Linked DNA regions of Homo sapiens: region 1 is linked to region 2. The links are contacts of gene promoters, found by promoter capture Hi-C in blood cells and fetal thymus (Javierre and others, 2016). All regions are on one chromosome and are shown on one strand. The core of a region is centred on a gene start or on the middle of the fragment in contact, and the rest is flanking DNA. Distances in the headings are between cores, read along the strand shown.

Evidence for each region. Contacts are between HindIII fragments. The CHiCAGO score rates a contact against its expected background, and 5 or more counts as called.
Region 1: a fragment that was not itself captured here is called in contact with the fragment with the promoter of CENPE in region 2 in 1 of 17 cell types (naive B cells); the score reaches 6.3 in naive B cells.

The regions. Positions count from the first base shown.
Region 1 is chr4:99,818,649-99,821,503 of GRCh38, forward strand. All of the region lies in intron 1 of DAPP1 (dual adaptor of phosphotyrosine and 3-phosphoinositides 1), which reads left to right. Among named protein-coding and RNA genes, the nearest start is that of DAPP1, 3.2 kb to the left of the region's middle. The HindIII fragment of the contact is 5,274 bases long and covers 1-2,855 here.
Region 2 is chr4:103,196,889-103,199,721 of GRCh38, forward strand. CENPE (centromere protein E) reads right to left here and starts at 1,455. Exons shown (of 49, transcript NM_001813.3): 1 at 1,376-1,455. The coding sequence starts at 1,431. RefSeq lists an enhancer at 1,317-1,871. The HindIII fragment of the contact is 3,749 bases long and covers 501-2,833 here.

The DNA.
Region 1 (2,855 bases), core at 171-2,670, 3.4 Mb before region 2:
TAGACATTGAATACAAAACTGAGTCACACCACTTCCCTGCAAAAAAAAAAGGGTACATTCATGGCCAGATTTCCCTATTTCAGAAGGCGTGAACAATTAATAAACATGAGGATGATTTCTATAGCAATGGGCAACCTGCAGTTATCTGGGAAAACTGCTCTACAGTCCTGGTTCTTGACCTTGGCTGTGCTCTGGAACATCTTGACACCCAAACCACAGACTTGACAAATGATTTCAGTATCTCTGGGGATGGGTGTTTTCTTGTCAAACTCTCCAAGTAATTCCAAAGTGAGACCCTAGGTTGATGATCACTGCATAGAATATGTATCTACCAAATGCATTAGGTAAATGTGGTCTTGTTTTTCATTTTAAGTCTGTTGGGTGTGTACTTGAATCTTAAAATTACTAATAAATGTTGATATTTTGTTTGTTGGTTTAGGGGCATTTCGATTAGCAACTTTATTGAGGTTATTTTACATATCATAAAATATACCCGTTTCAAGTGTACAATTCAATACTTTTGACTAACTTTACAGAGTGATACAACCATCACCATAAATCAGTTTTAGGACATTTCTGTTCTCCCAAAAAGAACCCTCAGATGTATGGCTTATTTAAGCATACTCAACAGTGTGCTGGAAAAACAGCTGGGAAGAGTTGGGGTGTGGAGAAAGCCCTGATTTCAAGAATTTGCCTAATTCCCTGGTATAAATACTCCCACTATAGACAATTTCAAGCTGCCAACAATTTAACATCATCGAATTGAATATTTAATAATCAACTTGTGCCAGTACTTGCTCCTGCAGCACCTCACTGATACATTTTTTATAGATAACAATTTGAGAACTCTTGACAATGACTTGTTGCCTCTGCCAGAATACTGAACATAACTCGAACATTATAATGACTTTTTCTTTGAACCTTTAACCACTGGCGAGATAGAATCTCTACCAAACCTTCTGATTAATTTAGTTTCCAAAGACCTCCTTAAAAACAAAATGATTTAATGTAATGGATAGATAAAAGGTAGCTGGTTTTAATGACTTAATTTTTCAATTATTTTTAAGAGGTTATTTGAGTAGTTAGATAAATCCTTACGTTTATGTTTTTGATAGACATAAACAGATAAGTTAGTGGTTAAATTACAGAAATAGCAGAAGTCTTTGTTCTTGGGCCTCTGTTTTTTTCAGGCTCTGGAATATGTAAATCCTGTAAATTGAGCCCTGAACTGCAGCAAATCCATCACTTGCCTTTCCAGGACATATACAACTTGCTCAGAGTACAGGTTTATTATTTTCTAAAATACCTAAATCAAGCAACACAGTGCTTTTCCATGTCTCATTTATAGAGTGTCAGCCTAAAATCATTAATTTTCTTTCATCTAAAATACATTAATGTGTCCAGAAGCAAAGGAGAAATAAAACCATCTTAAATTGTTGCTCAGCTTCGCTTACACTTCTCAGGGGAGGGTATGGGCTTAGGGGGAAGAGAGGTGTGGGGAGGGCAAGAAGTGAGGGTGTGGAGAATCAGGGGAGAGGAAGGAGGTGGACCATGAACGAGGAGATGGGTCAGGCTGTTTGCTGCTTGCAAAATGAAAATATGGCAAAATAAAACAAGTAACAAATACTGGAGATATCACCTAAGTAACAAACTGGTAAAGAATAGCTAGTTAAATTACTGAAAATTCCAGCAATTCTTTGGCTTTAACAAAGGTTACTATACTATTTCTACATATAGCTATATATATGTATAAACACAAAAGAAATAACAAAATGAAAGTGTTTTAGCATACTTTAAAATTAAATATTCAAATGATCTAGTCAGTTGTAACTCCAAGTGAGAAACATAATAAACGTTCTCTTTTTTAAATACTTTCTCAAATCGAAAGTTGTATAAGAAAGTGCCAGTGTTTGGCTGGATTGGCCAGTGCCAAAGAACTAGATTCCAAGCTCTGAATATTTAAATAAATTGATAACTAATTAGTCACATATAAGAGAAGTTTAGAGTAGACCATGGAGCAGCAAACCTTTTTTTTATAAAGGGCCGGGTAACGAATGTTTTAGGCTTTGCAGGCCTTACAGTCTCTACCTCAACTACTCACATCTGCTGTTGTGCAAAAACTACCAGAGAACACAGAAACAAATGACCGTGATGGTGTTCAAACAAAACGTTATTTATACACTGAAATGTGAATTTCATATAATTTTTATGAATATTTTTCTATTTCCCTCAAGCATTTCAAAATGTACAGCCATTCTTGGCTCCCAGTCCATACTAAAACAGGTGTCTGACAGGAATTAACCCTCAGCTGGTGGTTTGCTGACCCACGGAATAAATGATAATAAACAAAATGAGTCCGTATTATAAGGCAGGCATTTTGTAGACACCAGCTCTGGTCTTTGAAAGGCACTGGTATTCCAGCTTTACACAGGAAGAGACTCAAGAGCAGAAAAATCAGGTTGCCTACAGTCTCTGAGTGTCTGTGTTCAAAACCCATGCTGACTTCACAAACCAGGTTGTTTCCCTGCTGTGATAGTCCTAATTTACTGACCACCTACTATGCATCAGCACCATACCATTCACACGCATAATGCCATTTAGGCTTCACAATAACACTTTCAATACGATATCACCATACTCATTTCATAGACGCAAAAGGTGACTTCAATAAGCTAAGTATACGATCCAGGTCACAGACTTTGTAAGTAGTGGAGCTGAGAGACACACCTAGGAACTTACCCCAGAGCTTTCCACTGCATGGTGCTGCTTTGTAGAGCCCACTGGTCAAAGGTATGTATTCTAGTAATGGCAATTAGTAATTATTGGATGCTTATCATGTGCTAAGCACTAGTTTA
Region 2 (2,833 bases), core at 205-2,704:
AAGTCATGTCATAGGAGGAATAATTGAAAAGATTTCACCTGCTAAAGAATATTTTGAAAGATAGTAACATAAGAGAATGACAGAAAGTCCATCTTTGAGGATTCAACTCTTAAATGGAGCTTCAGTGACCTTCTGCCGCCTCAAAAGTGTTTTCTTGTGAAGGCTTTCATTCTCACCCTCTCCCCCAGTACTGGTAAACAAAGGGATGGATTCAAAATGCAACTCTGATTATGTCTGTCTTGCTTAAAATTCTTAAAACCTTTTGGAAACTTATGAAATCCTCAGCAGGGCACGAGTCCTAGATCATGTCATTTCTCTCTTCCATTTTCCTCTGAATTCCTAGATACATCCTAAGCTCTACCTGAAGGTCTTCCCCAAATGACAGATGTAACCTCTCTGTGCCTGGAATACTCTGACTTCCCTTTCCATTAAGTAACATAGGGATTATTTCACTCATGAAAAGCGTCAAGACTTTTCTGACACCAGTTCACCCCACGGGAAGCTTTCGTCTCTGATGGGCTAATAACTCCTCTAGCAAACATTCTCTACCTGCCCATCATAACACTTGTCAAAAGGTATCCTAATGGTTTCTTTATGTAGCCGTTTAAGGCATTAGATAATGAGCTCCTCAAAAATAGGAAATTCCTGATCTTGGTATTTGCATTTATTAAACCCCGTGTTCAATAAAAATTTCTCACACACACAAAGTGTTAGCATTTCGGGTCGAGGGCCAGAAGCTAGTGAAGCAAACCGATTTCATTTATTCCTCTTCCTGCTTTTTCTCCCTAGCACTTATTACCTACATATCACCACTTAACATCCTACATTTTCAACTTTACTTTCTGTCTCGTCCCATTAGAATGGAAGAGCCACTGGGCAATGACGGGAGTGTCTGTGTTGTACAAAGTCACTAAAAAAAAATTGATAAATATTTGTAGAATGATCTTGAGTGACGATTGAATGTAATGTGACAAGACAGACTAGCCCTTGTCTTCAGAGGGTCTGGAGACAGCAGTTAGGTGTAAAATGACTAACTGTGATGAGGGCCAGGAAGGCACGGTCCCATACGACTTCTCTAGGCGGGGAATGGGGCAGGGAGGAGCAGATGCCGCAAGGCAGAGCAGCACAGAAGGGAAGGTCTGTATGTCAGCGAGACTGAGTTAAATTTAAGTGAATCTCGCAGCTGGAAAGTATCTTCTAGATCTCCGATCCTCCCCTGTCACTTTACAGACCCTGAAACGATGGCCAGCAGCCGAGTCACTAGACAGCAGAGCCGGGAAGCAGCGGCTCCTGGAAACATCGTAGGCCTCGCCCCTCCGGCTCAGGGCGGCGCCGCAGGCCCAGCGGGCACCGGGCCGTGGTGTGGCCCCCCTACCTGCTGTTCAGCGGCCGCACTCGCACGCAGACGGCCACGGCTCCTTCCTCCGCCATCCTATCAGGCTGAACTGGTCCCAGGAAAATGGCCAGGACCCTCCGCGGCCGGCACTTCAGGGCTCACAGGCCGCCCCGCCTTTAAATTTAAAATTTCCCAAACGCCGCATCTGATTGAGCCGTGGCCTCGTGACGTCATGGGCCATTCCACGTGCGGAGCAGCGCGGGGGACGCAAGGCGGGCGGCGTGACCACTGCTAAACAGGAGAGGGGATTTAAAGGGCCCAGCAGAGAGTCGGAGGAGAGGGCCGAAGGGAGGGGCTCCCAGGAGTGGGCAGAGAGTGGTGGTCCTGGAATACCAGAATACTATTATCTGCCAAAAGCTAGCGAACGTCATCCTCCACCCCATCCTTAAAAAGTTTGGAACCTGTAGACGAAACTAGGTAGAGATACATGTATTTTTCACTACCCAAACAGAATTGCCGTCTTTTAAAGAAACTGCACCAACAGTTTAAAATAAACTTTCAACAGCAAGAGTTGAAATTCGCTGTCCAGTCCAGAAACGTGACAAGCCTGTTGTGCGCCTTAGAAAATCTGAGTTTAGGCTTTTCTCCTGTTTCTCTCTCTCTGTAACTCGTTTCCATTAGCTGTGGCTTCCTCAGAGGTTGAATTAGGGAAAATAAATACCGAGGACTGAAAAACTCATTGAGTAATGGGTTGATACTTTTTTTTTCTTCTTTTTTTTGGAAACGGAGTCTCGCTCTGTCACCCCAGGCTGGAGTGCAGTGGTGCTTATCTCTGCTCATTGCAGCCTCCACCTCCTGCATTCAAGTGATTCTCCTGCCTCAGCCTCCCCAGTAGCTGGGATTACAAGGTGCCCGCCACCACGCCCAGGTAATTTTTGTATTTTTAGTAGAGACGGGGCTTCGCCATGTTGGCAAGGCTGGTCTCAAAGTCCTGACCTCAGGTGATCCACTTGCCTCGGTCTCCAAAAGTGCTGGGATTAAAGGCGTGAGCCACCGCTCCTGGCCTGGTTTGTTACTTTTATTAACTAAGAGGGAAAGCTATTCTAAATACAGTGATTTTTTCCCAAAAATAATGCTTATTTTCCCTTTCTTCTCTCTCTCTCTTTTTTTTTTTTTTTTTTTTTTAAATAAACATGAGTTCTTGCTTTGTCACCTAGGCTAGAGTGCAGTAGGCTGAACACAGCTCACTGCAGGCTCAACTCCTGGCCTCAGCCCAAGTGGGGTTCCCACCTTAACCTCCTGAGTAGCTTGGATTACAGGCACATCACAAGCCCAGATAATTTTTAAATTTTTTTGTAGAGACGGGGTGGTGGGGGGATTAGGGTAGGGAGTGGGGTCTCACAGTGTTGCCTAGGCAGGTCTTGAACTCCTAGGCTCAAGCAATCCTCCTTGCCTTGGCCTCCCAAAGTGCTGGGATTACAAGCATGAGCCATCGTG